2 separate regions of the Homo sapiens genome follow, and region 2 is linked to region 1. Evidence: promoter capture Hi-C in human tissues and cell types (Jung and others, 2019). All regions are on one chromosome and are shown on one strand. Each heading gives the region's core, a stretch centred on a gene start or on the middle of the fragment in contact. The rest is flanking DNA. Distances are from core to core; before and after follow the strand shown. Region 1 holds the start of NR1I2 (nuclear receptor subfamily 1 group I member 2). Region 2 overlaps CFAP91 (cilia and flagella associated protein 91).

Evidence for each region. Contacts are between HindIII fragments. The study calls those that stand out against the background at their distance.
Region 2: a contact is called between a fragment that was not itself captured here and the fragment with the promoter of NR1I2 in region 1, in 2 of the 25 tissues and cell types used here (bladder and liver).

Annotation. Positions count from the first base shown.
Region 1 is chr3:119,778,888-119,785,500 of GRCh38, reverse strand. NR1I2 (nuclear receptor subfamily 1 group I member 2) reads right to left here and starts at 3,400. Exons shown (of 9, transcript NM_003889.4): 1 at 3,201-3,400. The HindIII fragment of the contact is 9,150 bases long and covers 1,854-6,613 here.
Region 2 is chr3:119,716,596-119,723,208 of GRCh38, reverse strand. All of the region lies in intron 6 of CFAP91 (cilia and flagella associated protein 91), which reads right to left. Among named protein-coding and RNA genes, the nearest start is that of CFAP91, 17 kb to the right of the region's middle. The HindIII fragment of the contact is 8,574 bases long and covers 1-6,613 here.

The sequences.
Region 1 (6,613 bases), core at 2,151-4,650:
CAGCCTTGGCTCTGGGTAGAGCAAAAAGAAAAGTCTCCTTTGAAATTCTTAACAACAGGCCTGCAATCAAGTAAGTTTGGGTCAGGATTCTCACTATTTGTGTGGCCAGTAGACCCCAAGCTTATGGTGGTCCCAGTTAGTTCTGTCCTCAGGTTCCTGGCAAAAGCAAAAATAAATCCTCTAGAGGAAAACAATTTCAATCTCAACAAGTCCCAAAGAGAAGTTTCCAAATGAGTTCATAGTACAAAATAAAAATGGAAATCAGGAACATGACAAGAATTCCTAGGACATCTAAGTGTTTGTAAAGAGTATCTCCTAGAATTGTGCAGTATAGAACCCACACAACTGTATGCATCACTTCTGAGACTATCTACTTTCATGGCTACTACTCAGCATTATGCTGAATGGCAAAGAAAAACCAATAAGACACAAAAAATTAAGGTTTGTAAAGATTGGAAAGGAAGGAGCAAAACTCTTACTATATATAGATGATATGTTTGTCTAACTAGAAATTCCAAAGGAATCAACTGATAAGCTTTTATAACTATTAAGAGAATTCCATAAGGTAACTAGGCAAAATATCAAAACACAAAATAGATTTTCTATTTATTGGGGGAAAAAATCAAGTAGAAAAGGTAAACATTATAGTGGAAATTGGCTCAGGAATAGGAAATAAATACAAAAGGACACAGAAATGGACATGTGTAAGTGGGAATTTAGTACATGATAGAGGTGATATTTCAAACAAATAGGAAAAAGATGGACTTTTCAATAAATAGTATTGAAATAATGTATTGCAATAAGTGCCAGGTGAATAAAGACTAACTTTTTAAATAAAAGTATTACAGGAAGGTGCACCAAAGTAGCTTCATAATTTTGGAAGTTGAGAAATCTTTTAAAAATCAGCCTCAAAGAGTAAAATCCAGAAAGAGGGAAACTAACAGATTCAACTACATCAAAATAACAACAACAATAATAGTAAAAATTTCTGTTGGCTAAAAAGTATGATTTAAACAAAGCTTAGAGAGAATATTACACACATATCAAATAATTTGCATTGAGAATAAATAAAAAACTCCTACAAAGAAGAAAAAAAATCCGACATAAAATAAGCTAAGGATATGAATAGGTAATTTAAGAAGAGAAATACAATGGCCAAGAGGGGTCCTATAAAAAGAATGCTCAACTTCATTAATAATCAGGGAAATTAAAATATTGAAATAATGGGTTGTCATTTGCACTAATTCAATGGAAAAAATAATAAAATACTGAATAAACAGCAAGCATTGTTTGGAGTGTGGAGGAACAGTAACTATCCTTCTCTGCTGGTGGGAGTACAGTCGGTTCGGGTACTGTGGAGGGCTGTTTGGCAGCCAAAAATTGAACCACATATATCCTGTGATGTGGCAATTCAACGTCTTAGTAGTTCCTCTAGTGCAATACGTGCACATGTCTAGAAGCAGACAAACACAGTGAGGTTCATTGGTAAGACTGAAAAATTGGAAAAGCTTAAATATCTATCGAAAAGAAAACGGCTAAATAAAAGAAGTGTACACTGTGAAATATGACGTAGCAGTTAAAATAAATGAAGTAGAGCTCTATACAGATATGGAAAGTCTCCAAGTCTTGCTATTGAGTGGAAAAACAGAATTAGAACAACATGGCAACAGATAGGTTTAATAGTCCATCTATGCATAGATGAACACACACACAGACACAATGGTCTGGCAGTAAATATATCACACTAAGTACTTTTGGGGAAACTGGAGATTAGGATTGACAGAATGGCCAAAGGTGAATTTAGGTTTATCTATACTGCTTTCTCATTTTCAAGGAGCATGAAATCATGTATTACTTTATAATTTAAAAAGTTATTACCTAAAAAACCTAGTCTAGTCAGTTTTGTGGTTGTCTTGGGTTTATTCCATAATAATTTTGGAACAAGTTGACAGCTTTTAGATCAGGAGTTGGCAAACTTTTTCTGTTAAAGGCCAGATAGTTAATATTTTAGGCTTTGTGGGCCATACTGTCTCTTTCGCAATTGGTCAATTTTGCTGACTCAATGAATCAGCTATAGCAGGCACTATTCCTCTCCCACATGGCCTCTAATGATATGGCCAGAGTTGAAAGGATGTTGTAGGGCAAAAACAGCCATATACAATACATAACGAATGGGCATGGCTGTGTTCCAATAAAGCTTCATTTATAAAAACAGCTGGTGGGCCAGAGTTAGCCTGTGAGCCATAGTTTGTCAACCCCAGGTTTAGACTTTTATGACATAACTAAAATATTTTTAAAGCGTATTTGTGTACCACAAAATACTTTTTCCCATTAACCAACTGATTAAATAAGCCTCTGAGGCCTCCCTTAGCATCCTTTCAACTCTGACCATATCATTAGAGGCCATGTGGGAGAGGAATAGTGCCTGCTATAGCTGATTCATTGAGTCAAGACTCAGTGGCCTCAGAGGTGTCTGTTGACCTGTCCTAGATATGGAGTGGCCTTAAAGCAGTGCCTCTGGCCATAGCTTCAGCCGAGCTGGGCTGTAAAGTGGAGAGAAGAAGGACCTGGTGGCACTGACCACATGCAGGCAAGACTCGGTTCTGTGGGACAAGGTGCCCTTTCAATAGTAGAGGTAGAAAACTCACTGGTTTGAAGCCAACTCAGCCGCAGCACTGTGCAGGGGTATGGCAGGTGCTCTGAGGGACCCCTCCTTGAAGTGGTGAGTCCTGGTGACTGTCATGCTGCTGTCCTTGGCCTCAGGGGGCTGCCAGCACTAACCCAGCAGGCCAAAAGGAATCAGGACTGAGTTGATCCCAGTTCCCATAGTCCCCAGCTCCCACAGTCCTTGGAGGTGGTATTTCCTGGGTCCAGGGACTCCAGCCCTGTAACAGGGAGCTGGTTGTATGTGTGACTTGTGGTAACTCATGCAGTAGTTAAGGCTTCTCCTGTGGTGATTTTTCTAGGAGGCTAGTGCAGGACCAGAGAGCATCAGTAATGGGGCTCAACATTAAGTGATTGTTTTCATGCTTTTTTTTTTCCACCCTAGAAATGAGGAGACAGCAGCAAGGCCAACATGATTCACGACCCACTATGATGCTGACCTCAAACAGAAGGTATATTTGTGTTCACACACATCTTTTGGCTGGAGCTGAAGGGCGGTCAGCCCCCAGCAAAAGAGAAAGAAAGAAAAACCATACCTGCTTGGTGGTAAGTTCTTTGCTCCGACTTCTCCCCTGGGGTCCACTTTGAACAATCCGGTGCAAAGGATCGATCAAGGAGTAGCTTTACCAAGGAGCCGCTGCCTTGTTCAGGACAGGAGTATTAGCTTATTCTCTTGCTTTTCTCACTGTGAACACTTGGCTTGCAGGCTGAGGCCGAGATTCCCACTGAAGTAAAGGCAGTGCTTCCTCTTCCCGTCCTAGTCATAGGTTATGATTTCCCCGGATATGAGACAATCTTGTCTCTCACCTATATTTCAGTCCAAGTCAGATGTAGGCACTAAGCGGCTCCATTGCCCCTCCTAAGTCCCAAGTCCAGCACTTGAACTAGCAAATGAAGAGATTACCGTATTTGTTCTCATTATGTTCTCCCTACTTTTTTCTTTCAGGTCTCTTCACTACAAAAACACAGGAAAAGGGGAAGAGAGTGGCAAATATCCGCTTTGTCTAAGTAATTCTGAGTGCATTTCATCAGTCTGAGGGTCTCTGTCCTTTACCACTAGGGGCAACATTAATTTGAACCTAGATCTCCTTATACTTCCTCCTTTGTTGAAACCACCTCCCTGGATAGTGTTACTTGATGTGAAAGTGAGCAAAGTATTGATTTATGACGGTGCCAATCACCAGCATGGTTATGTAAGAGGGGGGCAGGCACACAGGGAGAGGGAAAGGGTGTGAGATGAGGGGGCTGAGCACAGTTCTCGAGAATGTGACCCCACCACTTTGATCTCAGAACAGAAGGCTGACCAGGAGTGGGGAGGATGGACCAGCTGAGGGCTCTTTCCTCTCCCGGGTCCTGCCAGAGGGGAGCTGAAGAGTCCTCACTCTTCAGCCTCAACCTTCTTATTCCCTAGCAGCAGGTGCTCCCAAGTGAACAGAATCAACAAAAGCCGAATGTGGTGGATACCAGGATGTGTTTCTTCTACTTGCTTTGTTTATAAAGATGCTTTATGGCAGGTGAGGGGAGTGGAAGTAACTGCTCCTACCTAAAAGGCAAACAAGTACAAGCCTCTGGCAACAGTAAAGCAGGGGCATGGGCCCCAACAAGAGAGGGAGAGGGAGACCACGATTGAGCAAACAGGTAGAAAAGAGAACCTGGGATTGCCAAAAAATGACCACAGTTGTCTTCAGGTGAACATTTGGACTTCCTTACATTTATTTATTGACTTAAGTTGTTATTATTTTGAAGTACATGCTTTAATCCAGCCCTGGTGAGAAAAGCCAGAATATCTAAGTATGATTTGTTTGTTTTGTTTTTAATTGGTTTCTTCTCTATCCAATTTGCACTTCCCAAGGGATGAGAAAGACTTGAGGCTGGGATTTCCTAGGGGTTGACATTTCTCAAGTGGATGCTTGCCTTGCTGTTTTCAACCAAGCGCAGAATGTAAGGTGCTTACACAGCTCACTGCTGGGGACTTACTGCCAGCAGTGGGGACTGGGACCCACAGCCATAGAGCTCTGTCCTTTTTCCAGTCACATTTCTGATTATCCACATGGGATTCTGCTAGGGCTAGGAGGTATTGGATTACAAATCCCACTGGACAGAAAGTTGACTTGGGCCTTAGGCAGGGAGGACCTAGAGTAAGTGAAATATTGAATGTCATGAGGATATTGGAAAGAAAAAGAGTAAGTGAAATACTGGATTTCAGTACCAGTGGAAGTAGCCTGAACAGTGTGCTCTGGGGTAGGAGGACAGCATGGGGCTATATCTGGGGCCTGCAGGTCCCCTGAGAAACACAGATCAGAAGGCCATGGCTAAAGCCAAAGAGGGTGGGAAAGCTGGAAAGGGTTAAGAACTCACCCCAGGAAACTTATTTCCAAGATCAAAAGTAGGCCTTTCTGCACTGACAGGTATCTCCAAGTCCAGGGAAAAAAGGCATGACTCCAGCTCAGGTAGGCCACCTTGCCAGAAGTCCTTAGGTTATGGGTAACATACGTAGCTTTCATCATCTCTCAAATCCCTTCTGGCTCACAAGGGCCTGACCTTCTCTCTCTTAAAAATATAGTGAATTATTTACAGCAGAAACAGGAAACTAAGAACAGATTATGAAACCACTGAGGTAAAGGAAATATTCTCAGGTTTCTGCAGGGATCTTTGGGTCTCTTTTCCTTTGGGTCTGTGGTGTGAAGTCCCAGCTAGAAGACAGGAGAAGGCTGTAGGAGTGCCAGGCCTCTCTAGTCTAGCACTGCACTGTTAATATCAGACATGGCTCTATAGTGAAATGAGTTAAGAATACAGCCAGAAAATACACTCTCGTTCTTAAGGACAGCTTACTAATGCCCTCAGTTGAGGGCCAGAGTCACTCTCAAGCCCAGCTGGGAAGTCAGAGAAATTTGAGGCCTTGACCTCCATTCTATACTTTGCCTATTGCAGCAACCAGAAATGTAGAGCTCCTAAGAAACTCATCAGAGAAAAGCAGATCTGATCAGCCTGAAGAGTTTCTTTTTTTTTTTTGAGACAGTGTTTTGCTGTGTCACCCAGGCTGGAGTGCAGTGGCATGGTCATGGCTCACTGCAGCCTCAACCTCCTGGGCTAAAGCAATCCTCCCACCTCAGCATCCCAAATACCTGAGACTACAGGTGTGTGCCACCATGCTTGGCTAATTTTTTTTTTTGTTTTTCTTTTGTAGAGACGAGGTCTCATTATGTTGCCCAAGCTGGTCTCAAACTCTGGGGCTCAAGCAATCTGTCTGCCTTGGCCTCCCAAATTGCTGAAATTACAGGCATAAGCCATTGTACCTGGCCAGTTTCCTCAGTGTGAATTCATTTAATGTTTTACCCCTCTCCAGAGAATATTAATATTTAAAAAGAGGAACAGAGAGAACAAAATAAAAGAGTGATGCACTGATGATATAAATTCAGGTGGAATCTGAGGAAAATAGGTGTTTATCAGCCAGTCACATGGTCTTTCTCAAAAATCTCTTAGCCTCCCTCTGGGGTGTGCTCAGGGGCACTTAGGGCAGGAGCATGGAGGTGACACTCTGATCCCCATGAGGCAGTCTTGGAGGAAACTTCTCCCTTTTCATCCTTAAGTGGAGGTAGTAGAAGTTACCCAAAAAGGCTAGGAATAGGAATCTTCTCTTTGAAAGCGGTTTCATTTTATCACAAGTAGAAGCAGTGACACAAAGTTTAACTTCCCAGAAATCGCAGATTCCAGCAACTGGAGGACCACTAAATTTGAGCACCAGCTGTTCCAGATCCTATAATTACTCTGAGGCTCCATAAATTACACTTGTGGTCAGAATTCCAATGTCTCTCTTAGAATTTTGGAACACTTTGTTTTCACCTCATTTGTAAATTACACTGCAGAATATGGTATCTGTGACTTCCTGCCTTAGTTGCTTATAAGCCCCCTGAGAGGAGAAGCCCTTATATCACCTGGTACCAATTGC
Region 2 (6,613 bases), core at 1,895-4,394, 62 kb after region 1:
CATTGCATCTGCCCAATCTCAGCTGCTTTTTGCAGTCCTTACAAATATTTACTGGTTCATGAATTACATATATTTTTAGTTTTACTGAAAATGGAGTTCGTGGGAGTATTGTTGCTTTTGCTTTTGTATAATTTCTGGGAAGAGAAGATGAAAAGTGCTAATTTACCCAGGCATAGTTATATTGAGAGTGGGAATCTGGATTAGAACTACTCGAAGGTATAAATTATTTGAGGGAGAAGTCTTATCTATTCAAGCATGAGTTTCCCATTGATAAATATTTTCTCTCTTTTCACCAAATCTTTGTTTATGTGCTTAAAGAATAATTTATACTTTTCACCATAAATCCCTTGTACATTTTTATTAAGTGATTCCCTAGGCACTTTGTTATTCATTGCTACCGTGCATGTAATTTTTTTCAGCCAAGTGCGGTGGCTCACCTGTAATCCCAGCACTTTTGGAGGCCGAGACAGGAGAATTTCTAGGTCCAAGAATTGGAGACCAGCCTGGGCAACATAATGAAACCCCATCTCCACAAAAAAATATATTTTTTTAATTAGCATGGCATGGTGGTGTGGACTTGTGGCCCCAGCTACTTGGGAGGATGGGGTGAGAGGATCACTTGAGCCATAGGGTTTGAGGCTGCAGTGAGCTATGATCACATTACTACACTTCAGCCTGGGCAACAGAGTAAGACTCCATCTCTAAAACAAATAAATGAATGTAATTTTTTTCAAGATTTTTTTCTTTTTTTTGGCAGAGTCTTGCTCTGTCACCTAGGCTGGAGTGCAGTGATGCAATCTTGGCTCACTGAAACCTCCTCCTCCTCGGTTCAAGTGATTCTCCTGCCTCAGCCTCCCGAGTAGCTGGGACTACAGGCATATGCCACCATGCCCAGCTAATTTCTCTGTATTTTTAGTAGAGACGGGGTTTCACCATGTTGGCCAGGCTGGTCTTGAACTCCTGACCTCAGCTAAATAATTTTTCTCTTCTTTTTCTTTCTTTCATCTTCTTCCTTTTTTTTTTTTTTTTTTAGAGACAGGGTCGCACTCTGTTGCCCAGGTGGGAATACAGTGGCAAGATCATGGTTCACTGTACACTGTAACCTTGAACCCCTGGGCTCAAGCAATCCTGCATCAGCTTCTTGAGTAGCTAGGACCACAGGTGTGCACCACCACACTTGGCTAATTTTTCTTTTGTAGAAATGGAGGTCTTACTATGTTGTCCAAGCTGGTCTCAAACTCCTGGCCTCAATCAATCCTCCTGCCTTGGCATCCCAAAGTGCTGGGATTACAGGTGTGAGCCACTGCACCTGGCCTCAACAATTTTTCTAATTGGATATTTCTCTCATATAGGAAAGCGACTGATGTATGTTGACTTCTTGTTGAACTCTCTTTTTAGTTCTGATAATTTATTTTTCTAAGAGAGCACGTGTGCAAATAAGGATAGTTTTGCTGCTTCTTTCTAATCGCCATGCCTCCATTTTTCTCTTATCTTGCTGCACTGACTCAGTGTTCCTCAACCAGGGTGCTATTGCCATAATGGGCAGATAATTATTTGTATGAAACTCCCCCAAGCAGTACAGGATGTTTAGTATCCATGCCAGCCTATCAGCTATACCCTGTCCCACGAGCTAAATACCAGAAGCACTTCCTATCATTATTACATAGAAAAATGCCACTCATATTCCCAAATGTTCCTGAAAGGAGAGATCATAGCCAGGCTTGATAAACTCTGGGCTAAGATCTCCTCTACGTTGTTAAATAGTAGTGATAATGAGCATTACCAATGTCTTTTTCTTTTAAGGTAAAGCTTCTGAAGTTTCACCTTTAGTATGATGTTTATTACAGGCTGTGGTAGATATTCCTTATTAAGTCTCTAAAGTTTCCTTCTGCTCCCAGTTTATTCAGAGTATATGTCATAAATGAGCACTGCATGCTATAAAATACTTTTTCCTGCACCCAGAGGATTTTTCCTATGTTTTCGGTTAAAATGGTAAATTACATGAATGGCTTTCTGGTATTGCAACAAACTTGAACTTCTCTGATTAACTCCATCTGGTTATAAGTCACTCTTTTAAAATACAGCAAGATTAGATTGCTAGTATCTTATTTAGAATTTTTTTGCATATTTCTTCATATGTGAGATTGGCCTGTAAGTTTCCTTACTAGTATAGTTGGCCCTTCATATCCATGGTTCTACATCTGTGGATTTGACCAACTGCAGGTTGAAATTATTTTTTTTTAAACTGTGTCTGTTCTGAACATGTACAAACTTTTTTCTTGTCATTATTCCCTAAACAATACAGTATAATAACTATTTATGTATAATTTACATTGCATTAGGAATTATAAGTAATCTAGAGATTAAATATATGGGAGGATGTGTGTAGGTTATATGCAAATGCTATGCCATTTTACATAAGAGACTTGCGCATCCAAAAATCTTGGTAGGGTTGGAGGGTCCTAAAATCAATGTGCTACCAATACTAAGTAATAACTGTACTGTCCTCATTCAGTTTTCAAATTAAGGCTATACTGGTCTCATAAAATGAATAAATTAACTTTTATTCTGTGTTTCCTGAAAGAAGTTGCATAAAGCAGTTTATTTGTTCCTTAAAGGTGTGGTAAACTTACCTGTAAAACTGTTTAGGCCTGGTGCTCTTAAAAGAATTTTTTTTTCTTTTTACCAGGTCAATTTCTATAGTTACTCTTCTATTCAGGTTTGTGATTTCTTCTTAAAACCAACTTAGTAATTTACATTTTCTTTAAAAATTGTATAATTTATCTAAGTTTTCTTTTCTTTTTTTTTTTTTGAGACAGAGTCTTGCTCTGTCGCCCAGGCTGGAGTGCAGTGGCATCATCTCGGCTCACTGCAAGCAGAGCCTCCCGGGTTCACGCCATTCTCCTGCCTCAGCCTCCCGAGTAGCTGGGACTACGGGCGCCCGCCACCGCGCCCAGCTAATTTTTTTTTTTTTTTGTATTTTTAGTAGAGACAGGGTTTCACCATGTTAGCCAAGATGGTCTCGATCTCTTGACCTCGTGATCCACCTGCCTCAGCCTCCCAAAATGCTGGGATTACAGGGGTGAGCCACCGCGTCCGGCCCCTAAGTTTTTTTTTTTTTGATTTATGTATTTGAGACGGAGTCTCGCTCTGTCACCCAGGCTGGAGCACAGTGGTGCAATCTTGGGTCACTCACTGCAACCTCAGCCTCCTGAGTAGCTGGGATTACAGGCACCCACCACCACGTCTGGCTAATTTTTGTATTTTCAGTAGAGACGGGGTTTCACCATGTTGGCCAGGCTGGTCTCAAACTTCTCACCTCAAGTGATCCGCCTGCCTCAGCCTCCCAAAGTGCTGGGACTACAGGTGTGAGCCACCACGCCCAGCCTTTCTAAGTTTTTAAATATAGGGCAAAAGATATTCATAGCACTCTCGTATTTCTTAAGTTGTTTATTCTGTAGTTACTCTGTCCCCCTTTCTATCCCAATACTCTGTTTGCATCTTCTGTCTTCTTTCTTGATGCTTCCTACAAGAGGCTTGGCTGTATTATTAATCTTCATTAGAAAATTACTTATGGCCCTAATGACCATTTCTTTTGCCTTTTAAAAGATCTGTATTGTCAACTATTTGTTTCAACTTTATTATTCATTTAACATGTGAAGACTGAATAGGTTTAAAATGTAAAGCACTTGGATCAGTTCTTGACACATCATAAGCACTTAATTTTATCCCCGCAGTGCTTACAGTGTCATCCTTTTTCACTGTCGTTATTTTTCCCTTATCTTTATGTAAACTTTTCATGAATGTACAGCATACATAAACAAAAACAAACATCCCATATAATCAGCACCCAGATCAAGGAATAGAATATTACCAGAACACTAGAATGCCCATGATACTCCCTTCCCAGTCACTACCTGTCCCAAGGATAGCTACCATTCTCATTCCTAATGCGTTAATTTAGTTTTGACTGGTTTTACATTTTATGTAAATGAAATCACAGTGTAGGCACTCTTCTGTATCTTATTTTGTTCAGCATTATATACGCAATTATATACACATCTACAATCTCCCTTGTAATCACATGTAGTTGTACTTCATTCTCATTATTATATAGAATTCCATTATGTGAATAGACTATATTTCATTCATCCATTCTATGGTTGATGGACATTTGGGTTGTTTTCAGTTTGGAGTTATCATAATTAATGCTGCTGTGAGTTTTCTTGTATATGTCTTTTGGTGAACACTCCTATGCATTTCCGTTAGCAGAATAATGTGCTCATTTTTTTTTTTTTTGATGTATACTTAGGAGTGAAATTGCTGGATTGTAGGTATGAACACATTACATAAATAAATTTACTTAATCCTTACAGTATCCTATGAGATAGATATTCTTCTTATGTATGAAAATGTCTTTATCTCGCCTTCACTCCTCAATAATAGTTTGCCTGGTAAAAGAATTCTAGGTTTGCAATCATTTTCCCACAGCACCTTAAAGGCAATACTACAAAATATCCATCTTTTTTTTTCTTTGTAGGTAATCTGAGTTATCTTTCTAATAGTTTTTCTAATAGTTTTTTCACTTTTTCTTTCTCTTTTATTAGGAGGTGTGAGTTTTTAAAAAATCATTCTGCTTGGTACTCAGTGGAATTTTTCAGTGTGAAGGCTAATGTCTTTCTTTAGTTCTGGGGAGTTCTCAGCCACTGATTCTTGCATTGCTTCTCTACCATTTTCCCTATACTCATGTCCTAGCCCCCACAGCTCTTACTTTTCTTTTATCTTGTTCTACCACTATATGTTGCATTGTGGAATATGTGTCCATTTAATCTGTCATTTCACTAATTTGCTCTTCAGCTCCGTCTATTCTACTATTGAGTTCACTTTATTTCAAACGTTATAGTTTTCCTCCCCCTTGATTCCAACTGGTTCTTTTTCATGACTCCCATTCTTGTTTTGGTGTTGCTATTTCCCCCTCATCCTTTTGAGAATATAGAAAGCACTTCCTAAGTCCTTTTCAGACTGCTCCATTTTCTGTTTACTCAGAAATTTATTCTTCCATTTCCTTTATTTGTTGTGGGTCACTCCTGGTGTCTCTGTTCCTTGTGTGCTTTGGGGTTCTTGGGTGGAGACCAGCTGCAGGTTTCTCTCATAAGCACCCTGGTCAATAAGCAGCCTTGACCTGCGAGTGGCTACTACCTAAATTCATTCTTAGAACCCTGCTCATCACCACAAGGTGAGGAGTCCAAGGCCTCATGCCCACCTGGAGCTATTTCCAGGTGGTCCTGGAAATCCTTCTACAAATGGCCCCGAGCCTGCTTCCAAAGGTTCCATGGGCCTCTTCACAGGATTCAGATTCCTGAGAGCATACTATATGCTGCTGTTTCTTCACCCTGAAGCCCAAGGTGGGGCCAAATGGCAGCTGTTCGTAGGGATGTGTGAACATTGAGAAGAAGAGCTGGGGTAATCACGGGCATGCATGACAGGCCCCTCAGATGTAGAGCAGAGCCAGGGTGGGGAGAGAAAAGGGCAGGCCACAGCAGGCTCTCACCTCGCTGCTGCATTACAGTATGGAATCCCAGGAGTCTAAGAATTCCAATTTAAACTTGTCCTTTTAACTTGTTATAAAGATGTTTGTGAAAAAAAAAAAAAAAAAAACCAACGTATTTTACTTAACAGATATTAGCTTGATTTATAATTTTAAAATATCTATACATATGGTAGGTGGGCCTCCCTTAGAGTCCTGGGTCCCACAAATGGTAGGAGTAGGCCTGTCTCATAGAGGCTTTTATTGACACTTTAACTTCAGTTCTGCTATGACAGTGTACCAGATTAGGTTGTTTTTTTTGTTTGTTTTTTGCCTAATGAAGCATTTCTGAGCCTCTGCCTGGCTCTTGTCCTTCTGCAGTTTAACGCCAAGTCCTTATCACACCAAGAGGTAAAGTCCAAGGCCACAGGCAGGAATGCCTGACTCTGCTCTGTCTATAATCTTTATTGGGCAGGCACCAGGCTTCAGTTGCACCAGTGTGCAGGAGAAGGGCGCTGGCCCCTCACCTTCAGGCAGGTGACTTGGACCTGGTTCCCTGCCATGCACAGCTCCTACTCACCACCAAAGGTTCCCAGCTACTTCTTTCTTAGGAAAAAGTCTCCATTTCTACATTACGAATATTTTCTTTCTTGCTTTTAAGTGTGTCTACATGTTTATTAATTTTTTCCTGTAATTTTTATGCATTCAGAGCAGAAAGGGAAGGTTTCAGCATATTTTTAATTTGCCATCTAGGCCTGAAAGTAGAGCCTCTGCTTTAAAGTACGGGTGTTGGGCCAGGTGCGGTAGCTCAAGCCTGTAATCCCAGCACTTTGGGAGGCTGAGGTGGGCAGATCACGAGGTCAGGGGATCGAGACCATCCTGGCTAACACGGTGAAACCCCACCTCTACTAAAAATACAATAAAAAAATTAGCCAGGTGTGGTGGCATGCACCTGTACTCCCAGCTACTCGGGAGACTGAGGCAGGAGAATCACTTGAACCCAGGAGGCGGAGGTTGCAGTGAGCCAAGATCGCACCACTGCACTCCAGCCTGGGCGACAGAGTAAGACTCCGTCTCAAAAAAAAG